Linked DNA regions of Homo sapiens: all the other regions are linked to region 2. The links are contacts of gene promoters, found by promoter capture Hi-C in blood cells and fetal thymus (Javierre and others, 2016). All regions are on one chromosome and are shown on one strand. The core of a region is centred on a gene start or on the middle of the fragment in contact, and the rest is flanking DNA. Distances in the headings are between cores, read along the strand shown. Region 1 holds the start of MIRLET7A1HG (miRlet-7a-1/let-7f-1/let-7d cluster host gene). Region 2 holds the start of CKS2 (CDC28 protein kinase regulatory subunit 2). Region 3 overlaps ISCA1 (iron-sulfur cluster assembly 1). Region 4 holds the start of NAA35 (N-alpha-acetyltransferase 35, NatC auxiliary subunit). Region 5 overlaps AGTPBP1 (ATP/GTP binding carboxypeptidase 1). Region 6 holds the start of IPPK (inositol-pentakisphosphate 2-kinase).

Region 1 (2,772 bases), core at 112-2,611, 4.9 Mb after region 2:
ACCACACTCTTCCCCTGAACTGTACTCGATCTAGCTCTGGGGCCTGCTCTCTCCTTTCTCAATATATCTTCTAACCTCAAGAAGTCCTCCCCAAATCCTACCCATGGCTTAAGCTCAAGTTTCCCCCCCTCTAGTTTCTTGTTCACTTTAGCTCACAAAATAAAGTCCCCATTAAAAACAAAACGAAACAAACTCCTTTGGCACTTATTGCATACACTAATATGAGTGCTAAAAGGGGAGCTGATACCACCACCTAAGATCATAAATGTAAACGTACAGCATGTCAAGTACTATTTCCCATAGTTCTATTACAGACAAGGACCCACTTTTTTAAAAGTGTTGCACAAAGTCACAATGAATTACAAAAAGCAGAGCTACAGCCCAGGTCTTGCGGTTCCCAGCCATAAAATCTTAAAACTGGCAGAGACCTCAAACGACACCTTAACTAGTGATTTCAGAGTCCTAGCATGTGAAAGTTGTAATGGGGATGGAGGAACTGGGCTTTGGATTAATTTTAAAACAACAAAATCAAGGATTGCTTTGAAAAACATTTGAAGACAAAAATCTTCAAAACATGGGTTGGAAAAGATAACAAAAAAAAGCTCAGGGAGGCTGAGGTGGGAGGATCTCTAGAGTCCGGATGTCGAGGCTACAGTGAGCCGTGACCCACGCCACTGCACTCCAGCCCTGGAGAAAGAGCGAGAGACCGTGTCTCGAAAAAACAAACAACAAAAAAACCCTCAGACCCCAAAACGTCAAGGAATAAAAGTAAAAGGTTGGGCGGACACAACTCCTCCATTTGACAGATGAGCAAACTGAGGCACAGAACTCCAGGAGGCCTGGCCAAGGCCTCCTGGAGGGAACAGGGTCAGTTGACGGAAAAGAGCCAGAGGCTGCACGCTGGACAGCGTTCGGACCTTCCGGGTCGCGCACGTGTAAATTGCCCCCAGGAGCCTGAGGGAGCAAAGCAGCCGCCCCGCCCCGCGGGCAGCGCGTTCAGCGGCCACGTGACACAGCCAGCCCATCACGCGCAAAGGGCAGGGCCTGGAGGACACCACCCCCGCCACTCTCTCAGCCCTCCACTAGGAAAGAAGGAGATGGTATTGGTGGGCGGGCCAGACCCGCCTCCCCCACGGTGGCCACCCCGCGCGAGGCGGGCCCAGCCGCCGCCCTCCAGTGAGGGGACGGACGAGCTCAGCTAGGCCAAGGCGAAAGAGCGACGCGCACTTCAATCAGACGGCTTCACCAATGGGCTTGCGCGCTTTCCGCGGCGCCCGCCCCTGCATCGGCCTCCCGGCGACCGCGCTGCTTTCCCTCAGGCCGCCGCGGCGGCGCCCGCCCGCGCCTCCATCCGGGTCCTGGCGCGGTGCTCTCCCGGCAGCGACGGGCGCGAGGGCCGGGGCATTCCCACGGCCGCGACGGCCCTCTCCGCGAGCGCGAGGTGGGTATGGCGGACGCGGCAGCGAGCGCGGGTCCGTCGCCATTTTATTTCGCGGAGACTCGCGGCAGCGGGTGGGCAGAATGGGAGAGCCGTGCGCCGGCCCGCGCCTGTCCGGCTAACGCGGGCTGGGACTGGTGGGGCGGCCTGCCCCCTCCAGCGGGCGGGTGGCCCCGGGGGGCCGGCGGGCTGCTAGCGGAAGTCGCGGGCGCTCGGGGCACGGGGGAGGGGTGCCGCGTGGCCGCCGCGGGGCCGGCTCCAACCCCCTCCGCTTCCCGCCCAGCTCCTCACCGACAGGGCGGGGGAGGGGGGGTCATTCTTCACATTCCTTACCCCGCCCTTCCCCCCGCTTCAATCAAACTTGGGGCGGGCGGAAGGCCCGCCTTCCGGCCGGCGCCTGTTGGCCGGCGCCGCCTCTGACTGTGGCGTGACTGGTTGTAGGCGCCGCCAGGTGCCTCTGACGTCACTTCCGCTATCAAGTTTGTGGGCCGGGGAGACCTTGGCCTTGGGGGTTGGGATGAAGGAGGGAAGGTAGGAAGTGCGAGGGGCGGGGGGACAGGGCGGGAAGGCGCGGGCGGGGAGGGCGGGAGAGTCGTGGCTGGCTGCATGCCCCTGCTCCCCGCGGCCAAGTGCAGCCTCCCTTCCTGAAGCAGCTGCTGCGGCTGGAGGTCCGCTGCGGCAGCCGTCCTTGGCGAGGGGGAGGGGAACGCGGGAGCGGGAGGAAATCGTATCCCGGGGGACGGGGCTTGGAGATTTGCGACTCGGTGTCACCGGAAACAGCGCTGGCCTTTTGAGTCGACGCTGCAAACTCTTGGAACCGAGTGCCTCTCAGAAGGCTTGCTAATAAACTTCCCGGGCGGGCTCTAGTGTGAGGAATGTGGTAACCTGTATGTCCTTGGCCAGTAATGCCCTTCGGTCTTTCAACTTTTTACAGTAGATTCTGTGTCAGAGGTAATGGTATGTATTCTTCAACTTACCGGTTTTTAAAAAATTGACTAACGAGAGGGCGGGCAGACAGGAAAAAGGCAGGGAAGACAGTGAATGTTAAAATTTTGAGGTAAATCAGGAGACTGGTTGAGTTTTGCTTTTTAACTTCATTGATAATACTGCTTTCTTGGCATACAGTTCCTAAAGTTAAAGCATCATGTGGCATTCCTTTGCATTTATTTCTGTTGGCCTGAAGTATAAGAACATTGAATGTCAAATTCCAAATTTATGTGTAGTTTAGGAAATAATTGTTTATATCCAGAATTCTTTTGGTGTTTGGCGGGGTCTGGTTTTATTTACTGTATATTCGGGAAGTATGTGTAGTTAGGGAAGTAAAAACTTGGAAG
Region 2 (2,700 bases), core at 162-2,661:
CATGGAGATTATAAATGTCCTTAGCCGGCCTGTCTCACTTGTTCAGAAACCGGAAAAGTCCGTGGTCTGCAGTGTGGAAAAGGGCACCCGGACCTCTTACTTCCAGCCTCTAGTCTGGAAACTTTGTCTAAGGTACCCCATCTACATTACTTAGTCACAGCCACCCTGAACCCACTAGCCTGTACTGCGCTGGAGCATTTCGCATAAAATGAAATTAACATAAAAATGACACGTGCTCGTTGTGGAAAAAATACCAAAAAGATCACTTTTAATTCTGTCATCTAAAAATAACCACCAGTTACATTTATAAATTTCTTCCAGTAACTTTTTTATATGAACATGTTTTTAAACTTGGGTCAATATTAAAAGACCAGAAGTTGTTAAACATCATTTTAAATCCCCTTATCCAGGAATTAGCATTGTTATTCTTGGCCGCAGCAGAATATTATTTTATTCCCTCAAGCTTTCCATGGCTTGGGTCTGCCCTGGTTTTGAACATTAGGTTAGGCTACAGAAAGCATTCTGGGTCTCTGGCCCATTTGTTTCTTTCTTTGTGGAGACGGGGTCTGGCTCTGTTGCTCAGGCCTGTCTGGAACTCCTGGGCTCAAGCGACACTCCACCTCGGCCTCCCGAGTGGCTGGGACCACTGGCGCCCGCCGCCACCGCGCCGGCTCCGGGCCTCTCTCTACGCGTGGCTCCGCAGGCTCCATTCTCCACACAGTCGTCTAGGGGGGCGCCAGGAGCCCCGCGACGGGCCAGGCCGGAAGCTCAGCAAGTGCACCAGGCGGCGAAACGGCCGGCTGCGCAGGGCAGCCCCGGACACAGCCACGCCGCGGCCGCCCGGCGCTCCCCCGACCCAGCCGACCACGAAGCCGCCCTCCCCCTCACACCGCAGAACCTTTCTGCCTTTTACTACTTTTCAAAGTGGACCTAGGCTCCTGGCTCGAGCCTGAGGGGATACAAGGGATCACGAGGAGCGCCATCACCGTGCAAGGTCGACAGCTTCCGCTCAAAGCCCTGTGGCCCACGCTTCCGGCCTCGACCGACTACGTCATCACCAAACCCCGTGATACCTCACTCCACCTTCAGGTCCTCCGTCCCAACGGTTCCGTGTCCTGGAACTTTCCACGTTCCTGCGCACGCGCTCTGCGGCCCTTAACGTCCCGACTTCGCCCTCCTCTGGCCACGCCCCTGCCCGTTAAGGGCCCTGCCACCCCCGTGACGTACCTATCTTCCCTCGGGCAACCTCGCAACAGATCTCTGATTGGCTGACCCAGGAAGCGGACTTTGCGAGGCGGCGGCGACGATAGGCTGGCAGCCGGCCGACTTCCGCAGAAGGTGATTGGTCGGCGCTGCTGTCCAATCGGCGGCGGGCTGTCGGATTCAAATCCGGATCGTTGGGACTGCGGTCGTTAGTCTCCGGCGAGTTGTTGCCTGGGCTGGACGTGGTTTTGTCTGCTGCGCCCGCTCTTCGCGCTCTCGTTTCATTTTCTGCAGCGCGCCAGCAGGATGGCCCACAAGCAGATCTACTACTCGGACAAGTACTTCGACGAACACTACGAGTACCGGTGGGCGCCTTTCTTAGACCCCGAGCCGGCTCCCTCAGCCGGGGCCCCCGCGGGCGGGGCGACCCAGGCATAGTAGGGTCGGGGGTGGGGGCCGGGGCCTGGGGGGCGGAGCCCGGGGCCGGAGGGCGAGGGCCGGGGTTTGGGGTCGCGGCCACCTGGCGCCCCGCGCAGTCGGACATGGTTGGGTGCCTGGCCGCGCCGGGCCGGTTGGGCCTTTGTTCGGTGTGCGCGGAGGGTGAGGGAAGAGTGCCCACCGGGCCGCATTTAGTACCTGGGTAGGAACCGGCGCAACTTGGGGGTCATGGGGTCCTCGGCGACGCGGAGTGACCATCCCGTCACTTTTTTCTCGGCCGTGGCCGAAGTAATTAGGCCGTTCAGTAGCTGGTCTCAGTTCCAGTTCTTTGAACCAGTCCAGGAAAACCCACCTGGTGCCGTCCTTTTTCCTTTAGCAACCGTGACACACTTTCCCTGTCGCTGACGGGGTGATGCAGCTTTTACTAGTTTGTGGTTTAGAATGGTCAAATGGTCATTTTCATCTGTTAACACAGAGGAACACTTTTCTTTTTCTTGTTTTTGAAGTGAGTGGTATAAGAATAAGCTTTGGAGGCGACCCCCCGAAAAATGAGCTTGATGGGGATTCGAAAATGTTTACTGGGTATGGTGATTTGGGCCATTATAGGTTAGCCGCAGTCATACAATTGAGGGTATTATTAAAGGAGTTTCATTTTAAGGCCGATTAAGAACTTGAGTGGACTTTGGGCATCATTTTCTGCTAGTATACACTGGCCAAATTTTGGGCTTTGAGAAACTTTTGCGTTTGAGTCCTGAAGCACCGTACTAGAACATGGTGGCTGTAATCGATCAGTAAAATTAGACAAATTTTAAATGTCCCTGTCCCCTTCCCCCCAATTAAAGTAGATTGGGGGAAAGCGAGTAGGGACATTTAAAATTTGTTGTCCTTACTGTATGCGGGACACTTCATTTAGGGCGTGGCTTCAGAAAACAGTCAACCCCTTTTTCTTAACTAGGTAGCGACTAGAACGCTGCGTTCTGGGATACTACCAAGATTTAGGGGAGATAAAGCCCATGCCATCGTTGGCCAAATTGTGACCTTGTTTTCTGTCTGCTGCCT
Region 3 (2,783 bases), core at 227-2,726, 3.0 Mb before region 2:
TCTGGTTCTAGTCCAATGAACTAACACACAGTTCCTTACTGAGCATTAAGCATTTCCTAGCTTCTCAACTGGACTCCAATAGAAAGTTAAGCCCTAAGGCACCTTCCGTACACAATGAATTCATCAAGAATGATAGTGGCTGTGCACCATCATTCTCTCATAGAACTTGGTTGAGTTTTAATGCACAGCTGTGATCCACCCCAGTCCTACAAATTAGAGTTGCTCTGACTTGTACAATGATGGAAATAAATCTGTCTGCAAGCAGGGCACTATTTACTCTTCAGATTCTTTAATCACATCTGGCTCCTGCAAGTTCAATTCCACTTGTCAATTTCTAGATATGTAGGGAAATAGGGAAGATGTAGATAATCTGATAATGACAGCATTGAACTGTGTTATATTATCAGTTACTTTTCCTAGCCTTTTGTTGACATCTGGTAGACTCCACACATATAGCACTTTTCAAATGTTGCAACATGTCAAATTCCTAACATCAAAATTTATATATCCAGGTAACATTTATCCCTTCCAATCAGTTTTACTGAATTAGGTATACTTGTGTTTGCTCTTATCTGTCTCTACTTATTAGACCCAAGTAACATTTACCTCTTCCAATCAGTTTTACTGAATTACGTATACTTTTGTTTGCTCTCTTATCTGTCTCCATTCATTAGGCCTTTGACGGCATCACTACTTTTGCACTTGACGATACATGCTGATGATAAACTAAGCACAAAGAGCAATACATGCCATAGTGTCCTGACTAGGGCACGAATGCTGGAACTAAAATGACTGCAAGCCCACCAACACAGGCTGTGTGGAAAACAGCATTGATGTGCCTTCTCTCTGGTACAGCTTCTGAGAAGCTTCTAAAGTCAGCCATACTTAAGTAGGACAACAGAGTACAGACAGTAGACTCCTGCAAGTTAATCAAAACAGCTGAGTCAGGCAACATGGATACCTTGAGAACTGCTATGATAACATGTACTGAAGCAGAGGGGAGCAAGTGTGGAGAGAGACCAAGCCTGAGAATGTGCAGTGCTATTACTCCTAGTAAGAGGTGGCAAAGGCTTGGCCTGCGACTGTGCCCCGTAGGCTGGGAACTGTATAACTCATTCATTTGTCTTGAAACACAGCAGATCTTGATAAATGTCTGCTGAATGACTAGGAATGGAGAGAAAGGGACTGACATAGAAATTCTGAAGGAAGGGCAAGGCACGGTGGCTCATGCCTGTGATCCCAGCACTTTGGGAGGCTGAGACGAGTGGATCACGAGGTCAGGAGTCCAAGACCAGCCTGGTGAAGATGGTGAAACCCCATCTCTACTAAAAATACAAAAATAAATAAATAAATAAGCTGGGCATGGTGGTGGGCGTCTGTAATCCCAGCTACTCAGGAGGCTGAGGCAGAGAGTTGCTTGAACTCAGTAGGCAGAGGCTGCAGTGAGCTGAGATCACGCCACTGCACTCCAGCCTGGGCAACCCAGCGAAACCCTGTCTCAAAAAAAAAAAAAAAAAAAAGAAATTCTGAAGGAAGAGGTAACATGTCAAATGGTGATGGAGAAAGACATCAGGGACCAGGCATGGTGGCTCACACCTGTAATCCCTGCACACTGGGAGCCTGAGGCAGTGGACTGCTTGAGCCCAGGAGTTCGAGACCAGCCTGGGCAACCCAGGGAGACCCTAGGTGCATGCATGACGGTGCACACCGGTGGTCCCAGCGACTTGGGAGCCTGAGGTGGGAGGATCGCTTGGGCCCAGGAGGTTGACGCTGCAGTGTGCCATGATTGCACCACTGAACTACAGCCTGGGAGATAGAGTGAGACCCTGTCTCCAAAAACAAAACAAACAAAAACAAACAAACAAACAAAAAACAAAAAACAAAAAACCCAGTTAATAGGGTTGCTAAAAAGCAAAAAAGAAAAGGCAAAAACTGTTCCTGAACCTTCTGGCTCTTCCTGGATCTACCATTACCAGTGGAAGAATTCTGAATAATTCTTACTGAGATTGAAAGAGACACAAAGAATGAGTTGTGCCCTCTAGTTCTTAAAACCTTGTTTAATTCTACATCCCACGGTGTATGAAAATAAGCTTGCTCCTACAGAAAAGAGGTAATATAGAATGATACATAATCAGTACACTAGTAGTACCATATATAATCAGGGTAATATCAAAGGCCTAAAAAATTGATTATAAAAATAAATTCTCTCACCTGATCACAATTTTCTTCTACTTTGCTACAAACTTATTTTCTGGTAATAGGCCCTTTTGGCATTAGATGCAACAGAATCGATGAGTCAATTTAAATCGTTTTTTTTCCCAGTCTCTAAGCGAATGGTTGCATAAAGTCGTCTCCTTCACTAAAAGGGGAGTGTATGTAGGAACGTGATCATAAATTTTTCTTTTGGGGTGAAAGTATTTTGGAACTAGATAGAGGTGATGGTTGCACGACACTGTGAATGTCTTAAATGGCACTGAATTGTACCCTTTAAAAGGACTAATTTTATGTTATGTGGATTTTCCTTCCACTAAAAAACTGAACGGTGCGGCCGGAACACTGAGCTCAGTGAATTCTCTAAGTAATCAATGGTTGCACTCTGGTGCCCTCTGAGTGTTTGACCTTTCACCCAGAAAAGGCTGTAAACTCACTCTGGGAAATCATCTTTTGTCCTAAGAGCCTAGGCTTGCTAGAGGCACAGAGGGAGTTTCAAAGGCCTCAATCACCCAGGACACCGGCAAGTAACGCTTTGCGCGCCGCGGCCGTGACCTCGGCAGGAGCCGGGG
Region 4 (2,761 bases), core at 210-2,709, 3.4 Mb before region 2:
CGCCACCATGCCTGGCTAATTTTTTTGTATTTTTAGTAGAGACAGGATTTCACCATATTGGTCAGGCTAGTCTCCAACCCGACCTCTCCACTGCCAGCCTCCCAAAGTGTTGGGATTACACGCATGAGCTACCAGCTACCAAGCTCAGCCTGATTTCTTTTACTCAATATATTTTTGAAATTCATTCATGTTGTATGTCAAGTAGTTTATCCCTGTTTATTGATAATTACATTCATTACATTGTATGGATATGCCACAAATTGTTTTTATTCAACAGTTGATGGACATTTGGGTTGTCTGTAGTTTTTGATGATTAAAAACAAAGCTGGGCCAGGCACGGTGGCTCATACCTGTAATCCCAGCACTCTGGGAGGCTGAGGTGGGCAGATCACGAGGTCAGGAGTTTGAGATCAGCCTGACCAACATGGTGAAACCCCATCTCTACTAAAAATACAAAAAACAGCCTGGTGTGGGGGCAGGCGCCTGTAATCCCAGCTACTCGGGAGACTGAGGCACGAGAATTGCTTGAACCTGAAAGGCAGAGGTTGCAATGAGCCGAGATCAGGTCACTGCACTCTAGCAGGGGCGACAAGAGTGACACTCTGTCTCAAACAAAAACAAAAACAAAGCAAAACAAAGCTGGTATGAACATTAACGTACAAGCCTTTGTATGAATATGTTTTTGTTCCTAAGTAAATTCGTAGATTACTGGATCGAATGATAAGTATATGATTATAAGGAGAGATTGTTAAGTTTTCCAAAGTGGTTGTACCATTTTGCATTACCACCACCAACATAACAGAGGTCCAGTTGCTCTGCATCCTTGCCAACATTTGGTATTATCTTTTCCATCTTTTAATTTTGGGCCATCCTAAAGAACAGGTGGTGATAAAGATGTGCTTCTTACCTGCGCCCGTCTATTTATGTAACCCCATTTAAAAACTGATCATTTTATTAATAAATTAAAAAAATCTAAAACATATAAGAATCTGAAATTAAATGTCTGGCTTGACTTTGCAGATATTTTGAATCTATGTTTCCTCACGAAACTCCCAGGCGCTGTATAGGAAACATAAATCCGTTGTCAGGCAGCAGTAGCACGCTGTTGCTCTCGGAGCTTGGCTGCTCGTTCGTGCTCGCAACCACTAAGGTCTACGCAAACCTCCACGGTTTCCTTCCGCCTTCGCGTCACCTTTCTAAGAAATTCCCAGAGGGCAGCGCAGACGGGGCGGGCTCTGAGACTCCGGGCTCCGCCTCTTTCCGGGAACCGCCCACTACCCAGGACTCCGACAGAGGGTGAAAAAAGATAACTTCCGGTCTCGCGATCGTCTCTAATCTCGCGAGAAGAGAAGGCGGCCGCCATCGGCCGAACGGAGGCGGTGGCGAGGGAGGGGGTGTGGCCGGGGAGCGCGAAGTCCCCGGGAGTAAGGGAGAGGGGGCGGGGTCGCGCGTCCCGGGCATACGCATGCGTGCACGCTGCCGGTCGGGCTGGGCTGAGAGGGGAGGGGGCGGCGGCGGCCGAGGCGGCGTCGTTATTTCCGTGGTCCGGACAGTGCGTGGCGGCGCGGGTGACCACGGGAGAAGTAGGTAGGGACCGCCCCTGCGTAGCCATTGAAACCCTCTCGCTCGTGTGTCCGAGAGCCGCAGCCCCCCGCGCGTGTGGCAGATCCTGGGGACCCCAGGTCACCCTGCGGCCCCGGCCCTCCCGCTGCGCGTCAGGTAGGAGCGGCGGGCTCCCCAGTGCCCGCTGTCGGCCGAGGCCCCACTCTTGCCCGGTGTTGCCGAGGCGACGACCCGGCGCCGGACGTGCCCGCCCTCCCGCGCGGCGACAGCTCTGTCCTTGCTTATGCGCCCAGTGGGACCGGGGCTGGGCTGGGCTGACCCGGGCAGGGCGGAAGGGAAGCGTGTGCCCGCCTCAGGTGTGCCTCGGCCCTAGGCCCGGCCGGCGGGACCCTGCGGTGCCTGCCGGCTCCTCATTGCTCCCGGCGAGGTTCTGCCTGGGTCCGGGCCGGCTCTGGCCCGGGAGAGGTCCCAGCGAGCTCTGGCCAGATGAAGGGCTACCTTGATTGACTTCGGTAGCTGCCGCATGGGGTCCTGGGCTGCGAGAGGGGACCCTGAATAGTGCCTTGGTCTTTTGTGGCTATTATTGAAAGTTGGAAGCTCTGGAGTTGTTCTTTTCGGGCCAGAGGTGAGATGGTTTGTGATTTTTCTTCTTAAACAGTAGGAAGGCAAAATGTTTATGGGCCCTGGTAGGTGGTGGGCTAATAGTAAGCAGCAGGAGTGTTAATTGACGTGCGATTTGATTGCATTAAGGTTATTCTTTGCAGTACTGTCCTTAGACTCAGAAGAGTTCTGCTTTAAAGAGTTTAGTTAAGACTTCATCCTATGCTGAAACAAACACCCATTTCTGCAAATACTCTTGCCCTGAAAGCTACATCCTCTCTCTTACATCAGTATTAATTTTACAGGCATAATGGTTATGAAAGCTTCTGTAGATGATGACGATTCAGGATGGGAGCTCAGTATGCCAGAAAAAATGGAGAAAAGCAATACAAACTGGGTGGACATTACCCAAGATTTTGAAGAAGCTTGTCGAGGTGAGTCTGATTTTTGGATTAGAAGTTCAGCATCTGGAAGGGGTAGAATGACGATTGTGCTTTCTAAACTTACCTCATTAGATGAAATCAACAGGTAAATGTGGTTTGTTGAGTTTGTTAGCCACACTTATTCTGTATCCTCTAATTTTAACTTTAAAGCAAAT
Region 5 (2,942 bases), core at 420-2,919, 3.6 Mb before region 2:
ACTTACATGTTTCCAAGGCAGGAGGCAGGACAGTGAGACTAAGCTCTCATTTAACCCCAAAGGAGCAAATGGGTCATAGTGGAATTAATCTGCACTAATACTGCTCCATCCCCCAAAAGTCCTTTTTCTGCTTACTAGATCCCTTTGAAGACTGAGGAAGAGCAACGGTAATAATAGCAATATTTACTGGGCACTTACTACATGCCAGGCACTGTGGGCTAAGCACTTTACTTGTATTAATCACTTAATATTTGAGAATATCTTAAGAGTATACACTAATATTATGTCATTTTTGGAGCTGAGAAAATTAAAGTACAAAAAGGACAAATAACTTGTCTTAAAAAAATAAAAATAAAAATAACTTGCCTAAAGCAAAGCCAGGACCCAAACCGAGCCATCTGGCTCTGAGGCCCAACTCCTTAGCCACTACACCATAGTACACAGGCACAGTAATCAACAATAACATCTGAAGTTTAAAATTCAGTGCCCACCCTACAAAATTTATGTTGTTTATACTGAAACCCATTGCCTAAGGAAAGCTCCCATCTTGCAGATGGCCCTCTGACAGGTGCATCCATTGCTATTCACGCACTGTTCAACTTTCAGATAGTGGGGGACTTCAAGCAAGAAAAGCAGATTTGGGAAGATGAATACTTTGGATGAGGTTTAAAAAAATTCAGGCCAGGACGGGCGTGGTGGCGGACGCCTGTAATCCCAGGACTTTGGGAGGCCGAGGTGGGCAGACCACCTGAGGTCAGGAGTTCAAGACGAGCTTGGGTAACATGGTGAAACCCCGTCTCTACTAAAAACAAAAACTTAGCCGGGCGTGGTGGTGTGCTCCTGTAATCCCAGCTATTCGGGAGGCTGAGGCAGGAGAATCGCTTGAACCCGGGAGGCAGAGGCTGTAGTGAGCCAAGATCGTGCCACTGCACTCCAGCCTGGGCGACAAGAGCGAAACTCCGTCTCAAAAAAAAAAAAAAAAAAATTCAGGCCAAGCTTGGTGGCTCACGCCTGTAATCCCTGCACCTTAAGAAGCTGAGGCTAGTGGATCACCTGAGGTTGGGAGTTCGATACCAGCCTGGCCAACATGGTGAAACCCGTCTCTACTAAAAACACAAAAATTAGCTAGGCGTGGTGACGCGCGCCTATAATCAAGAAGCTGAGGCGGGAGAATCGCTTGAACCCGGTAGGGGCAGGTTGCAGTGAGCCGAGATCGCACCACTGGCACTCTAGCCTGGGCGAGAGAGTGAGACTCCGTCTCAAAAAAAAAAAAAAAGTAAAATACAAATTACAAAATTTCATAACTGTTGGACCTCTTTTCCTTCTGCTAATGGAAGTAAAACCATTATTATATAGCAGCCTAGCCAGACTTTTCTAAAGAGAAGAATGCCTCAATTCGGAAAAGCTTTATAAAAATTGCTTCTACAAAAGTTTAATTAATAGATTTAAATGCTTTGCAATGTTGGCCAAATACGAGGGTAGTTTTAAGCCTATCCACTTCATTTCCGAGTTCAGAGTGAGTCTGCAGTTGTAATTATGTGATTAATCAATTCAAGGCAGAGTTTTGTGATCATTAAAAATGAACCTGTAACTTCACCATAGAATTTAACTTAAGAGAAGTGGAATGGGAAAAAGAGCAAGTCATATTAGAACTCTGCCTGCATGATGAGAAACAGTGGGTAAGGCACGACTTATTATTTCGCAGTAATTCTACATAGGAAATACAGATCTTTCAGAGTTTTGTTTGGTTTTGACATTTGGCACATGTTTTAAAATAAGCACCATTTAAAGTTCCTTAAATAAATCATTTCTTTTTTGGCCTACTGAACTAAAAACATTCCACAATACAATTACAAAAATAACTTTCCGGTTTTCTCAGACAACCAGTTTATAAGAATAATTCAGAAGTTCACAAAGGATAATTTGATTTACATAAAGCTTAAAAAACGGACATAAAAGGTAAGTGAAAATGACCGATTAAGAAGACTGTTAAGGTCCTTTCTAACTACAAATTGTCATGCATTGTAATTAAACACAACTACAATGTTAAACACCTGAAGGAAAAAACCCACATAGAATTAATACTGCCAAAGAAAATTTCCGCTATCTTCAGGCACTTGAGTAAGCTATGTTAAAACGGGAAATGGGCTTTAAATTATCAACATTCACATCGATTACACTATGATGCATGAAAACTCCATTCTACAATGAGTAAACGCCCAAGAAAGGAACCCAACCAACTCCAATTGCCCTGGTGCTCGTAAGAGGTTTATACCGCACAAGGGGTAAAACAACGGTAGAGTCGAGCAAGCCTTTGGGTTACAACAGTCCTTGAACACTTGCAATTGAGAACCCGCAATTCAGGAAGGAAGACACTAAGGAAACTCTGCACTGTCATCCAGGGTGATCTGATTCAGGTTCAAACCAAACGCTCAAGGCGACAAGTTGTAAACAGAAGACACACTTCAGCTCAAACCACCCAGCGAGAGGAAGCAAACGTGCCCATCGCCGATGTCACAGCAAATCCCACCTTGCTGGCGCTCAGTCGGGAACGCTAGAATTCTCGAAGCACAGGGGCCCGCGATTCAGCGGCCCGCTACCACTGGGGCGGGGGAGAGCGGGGCTGGGCGCGCCCGCCCCCGGCCCTGCAGCCCCTCGGCTGGACTCCCCGCGGCGCCGCGAGCTCGGGCCCGAGAGAAAGGGCTGAGCAGAAAGGGCGGCCTCCGCCCAGAGACCGCGCCCGATACCCTCCGCAAGGTCTGGGACGGGGATCCACCGAGGGTCCGGGGACTGGGGAAGGCGTTTTCCAGACCCAGTCAAAGCCCCACCCCGTCAGGGCTTTCCCTCAAGACCGAGTGCGTTCCCCTCACGCGTCACATGTGTAACATGCGTTACACAACCCGTCAGGTAAGGGGCGCAGGGATCCGGGGTCGCCCCTCCTA
Region 6 (2,772 bases), core at 130-2,629, 3.4 Mb after region 2:
GCAAAGCTTGTAGTCTCTGTTCTTTAGTTCCCTGTGCTAATGAGCAACAAAATCCAAAGGCACAACCTAGGGGCTACCTGGGTGTTTGCAGCTTACACTACAGCTGACCAATGCACCCAGCATAGGAACAACAGAAGCAAGGCAGGACTCCACTGCCTACATCATCCCTGACAAGCTGTTCGACTCGGGCAATGCCCTTAACCTCTCTGATTTTCACTTTATTTATCTGTCCAAGGGATGACAATTATCACTTGCTAAGCATAACTTGATGGGTTCCTGCGTAACTGGTCTTTGCAACAATCCCACAAAGTGAATTCTACTACTAGTTCCACTTCACAAATGTAGACACTGAGATTCCTGTGCCTTTAACACCCATGCTCTAACTCCTCCCTACATGACACCTATCCTCGCCTCCCTCACCCCCCTCCCCCGTTCCAGCCGGCCACATTCCTGCGTGGTTGTACCAGACAGCAAAAGGTCAGAGAGATCTGGGCCCTCACAGAAACCCACACGCTTCACTCTTGGGATTCACCTTTGCGAGATCTTACTGCAGTTTCTAAAACTTTCACCCTCGTTGAATTCAGGTGAAAGCCTTCAAATTCTAAAAGGTTGAGAAGAGGACCTGTGGACAACATCCCCTTACTATTAACAGCACAGCAATTCCGTAGTCTCACGAGGCTGAACTCTTTTGGTGCTGAGAGTAACAGCACTGTGGGCACTCTGCTTCTTCCTCCAGTGCTGGCCGGGCCCTCCGTCCCAACCAAGCCTCCACCCCACTGCGGCCTGGCAGTCCGGCGGGCATCCAGGCGGGAGGCGGCACCGCGTGAGGCTGAGCGCGGCACCGACGGGGCGGGGAGGGGGATGTGGAACTGACTCTGACGGGGAACGGGAATACTGAGGGGACGACAGACCGGCCAGGAGAAGGATCTGGGGCAATGGGAGACTGACCCAGTAGAGAGGGGATACTGGGGTGATGAGGAACCCAAGCGGTAGGGGGGGATGCTGGAGGGTGGGGGAATTCCGGAGACCGGCCGGGGAGGAGGAAGGTACTGGGGGGACGTGGAACCGACCCTGTTGAGGAAACGGATAATGGGGGCGGGGTGATACCGGCCGTCGGAGTGAGGTACCGGACCTGCGCCGCACGTCCACCGCTCACCTGCGCGTGGGCCACCACCAGGCTCTTATTGCCCTCTCCGTGGTACCCCCATTCATTCTCGTCCATCTTCCCCTCTTCCATGCCCAGGCGCAGCCCTGGCGCCTCGCGGGCTAGGACTCGGGGACGCGAGCTGGGGGCCGCCCGCCTCGCTGGGAACCAGCCGCTGCGGTCGGGGGAGGAGCGCCTGTCAGCTGCCGCCCCCGCTCGACCCCGCCGCGGCGACTAGCAAGCTGTGGCCGCCGGAAGCCACGCCCCCGGCGCCTGCCATGACGGAGTCGGGCAATTCCGGGTTCGTGACACTTTCCTCACACCGATCGCGACGGTGGATGGGCCGGCGGCCATCTTAGGTACTGGTAGAGCGACTCATTTCCGGAACGCGGTCTTGGGAGCCGGAAGAGAAGCTTCCGGCCTCGGCGCCGGATGTGTAGCTGGCGGAAGGAGCCGGCGGCTTTTCGGCGCCCGGTAGTGACCGGCAGTCCCCGGGTAGCCAGGGTGTCTGGGTGTTGGGACCGCTTAGTCGCGAGACCCCAGCAAACCTCTTGGCGTCTCTGAGCCTCAGCTTTTGCTTCTGTAGAATAGGGTGTACTCATCGTACATTTCATGGGAATACCTAACGCAGTCATTTGGATGGTCCTGTGAGGTAGAAAACATTGTCCAACGTTCTACGCGAGGAAATGTGGCTGGGCCACAGGACTGGACTCCCCAGTCCCGCTTTTGCCTGAAGACTTCGAGGGACGCAGTTGGAGCGCAAGGCTCCTGCTTGGCGGTGAGGCAGAGGGCTAACGACCTTCCTTCTCCTAAATTCACTGATGCGGCGGCAAGAATGGCACCGCCTCGTAGAGCTACCGCATTTCCCAAACTCGTAGTCTCAGGACCACTTTATACTCATAAAAATGAGGGCCCCAAGCTTTTGCTAATGTGGGTTACAGCTATCGATGTTACCACATTCTAAGTTAAAATGCTTTAAAGTTTTTTGTTGTTTCGTTTAAAAGTAAACAGCCGGGCGCGGTAGCTCACGCCTGTAATCCCAGCACTTTGGGAGGCTGAGGCGGGCGTATCACCTGAGGTCAGGAGTTTGAGACCAGCCTGGCCAACATGGTGAAACCCTGTCTCTACTAAAAATACAAAAATGAGCCAGGTATGGTGGCGCAGGCCTGTAATCCCAGCTACTCCGGAGGCTGAGGCAAGAGAATCATTTGAACCCAGGAGGCGGAGGTTGCGGTAAGCCAAGATCGCGCCATTGCACTCCAGCGTGGACGACAGAGTGAGACTCCATCTCAAAAAAAAAAAAAAAAAAAAAAGTAAACATTACATTCCACGCCCACCACCAAAATAAAGGAGTGGTATTGTTTTACACTTTTGCAAATCTTTTTAAAATCTGACCTAATAGGTTCTCACATGTGCTTCGGCATTCGGTCTGCTGCAATATATTGCATTGGTTGACATACACATTGTGAAGAACATCTGCAGTTATGTAGTTCACAAAGAGAGGACCTGCAGACCCAACTTTGAGAACGGCTGGGCACCTTGCCAGGCCTTGGGAATTGTAGTGAAATCAGGCCAGTGACTCAGGAAAATGAGCTGAAGGCTTTGAGCATCTCTTTCCTCCATTTTAG

What was found. The method cuts DNA at HindIII sites, captures the fragments that hold promoters and counts their contacts. A CHiCAGO score of 5 or more calls a contact.
Region 1: a contact is called between a fragment that was not itself captured here and the fragment with the promoter of CKS2 in region 2, in 1 of 17 cell types (fetal thymus). The highest score is 5.1, in fetal thymus.
Region 3: a contact is called between a fragment that was not itself captured here and the fragment with the promoter of CKS2 in region 2, in 1 of 17 cell types (total CD4 T cells). The highest score is 7.6, in total CD4 T cells.
Region 4: a contact is called between the fragment with the promoter of NAA35 here and the fragment with the promoter of CKS2 in region 2, in 8 of 17 cell types (fetal thymus, total CD4 T cells, neutrophils and 5 more). The highest score is 10.9, in fetal thymus.
Region 5: a fragment that was not itself captured here is called in contact with the fragment with the promoter of CKS2 in region 2 in 1 of 17 cell types (naive CD8 T cells); the score reaches 5.3 in naive CD8 T cells.
Region 6: a contact is called between the fragment with the promoter of IPPK here and the fragment with the promoter of CKS2 in region 2, in 8 of 17 cell types (fetal thymus, total CD8 T cells, activated CD4 T cells and 5 more). The highest score is 18.9, in fetal thymus.

What each region holds. Positions count from the first base shown.
Region 1 is chr9:94,164,941-94,167,712 of GRCh38, forward strand. It overlaps MIRLET7A1HG (miRlet-7a-1/let-7f-1/let-7d cluster host gene), which reads left to right and starts at 1,318. Exons shown (of 5, transcript NR_170278.1): 1 at 1,318-1,441. RefSeq lists an enhancer at 683-1,247 and silencers at 943-1,742, 1,973-2,042. The HindIII fragment of the contact is 4,683 bases long and covers 1-2,772 here.
Region 2 is chr9:89,309,784-89,312,483 of GRCh38, forward strand. CKS2 (CDC28 protein kinase regulatory subunit 2) reads left to right here and starts at 1,412. Exons shown (of 3, transcript NM_001827.3): 1 at 1,412-1,568. The coding sequence starts at 1,510. MIR3153 (microRNA 3153) reads left to right here and starts at 2,442; the gene lies at 2,442-2,523. It overlaps LOC105376136 (a long non-coding RNA gene), which reads right to left and starts at 1,019. Exons shown (of 3, transcript XR_930101.4): 1 at 1-1,019. RefSeq lists a silencer at 718-947 and enhancers at 958-1,247, 1,918-1,967. The HindIII fragment of the contact is 1,703 bases long and covers 462-2,164 here.
Region 3 is chr9:86,279,095-86,281,877 of GRCh38, forward strand. The region is part of intron 1 of ISCA1 (iron-sulfur cluster assembly 1); the gene reads right to left. It overlaps LOC124902194 (a long non-coding RNA gene), which reads right to left. Exons shown (of 2, transcript XR_007061634.1): 2 at 1-2,359. Among named protein-coding and RNA genes, the nearest start is that of ISCA1, 2.1 kb to the right of the region's middle. The HindIII fragment of the contact is 1,224 bases long and covers 865-2,088 here.
Region 4 is chr9:85,939,687-85,942,447 of GRCh38, forward strand. It overlaps NAA35 (N-alpha-acetyltransferase 35, NatC auxiliary subunit), which reads left to right and starts at 1,460. Exons shown (of 23, transcript NM_024635.4): 1 at 1,460-1,587; 2 at 2,469-2,597. The coding sequence starts at 2,474. RefSeq lists a silencer at 1,364-2,043. The HindIII fragment of the contact is 5,629 bases long and covers 1-2,484 here.
Region 5 is chr9:85,738,743-85,741,684 of GRCh38, forward strand. The region is part of intron 1 of AGTPBP1 (ATP/GTP binding carboxypeptidase 1); the gene reads right to left. Among named protein-coding and RNA genes, the nearest start is that of AGTPBP1, 1.7 kb to the right of the region's middle. RefSeq lists an enhancer at 2,226-2,375 and silencers at 2,546-2,865, 2,936-2,942. The HindIII fragment of the contact is 533 bases long and covers 1,404-1,936 here.
Region 6 is chr9:92,668,752-92,671,523 of GRCh38, forward strand. It overlaps IPPK (inositol-pentakisphosphate 2-kinase), which reads right to left and starts at 1,380. Exons shown (of 13, transcript NM_022755.6): 1 at 1,157-1,380. The coding sequence starts at 1,237. It overlaps LOC107987095 (a long non-coding RNA gene), which reads left to right and starts at 1,611. Exons shown (of 2, transcript XR_001746837.2): 1 at 1,611-1,922. RefSeq lists enhancers at 482-651, 1,392-1,841, 1,852-1,901, 2,656-2,772 and a silencer at 1,172-1,351. The HindIII fragment of the contact is 1,551 bases long and covers 5-1,555 here.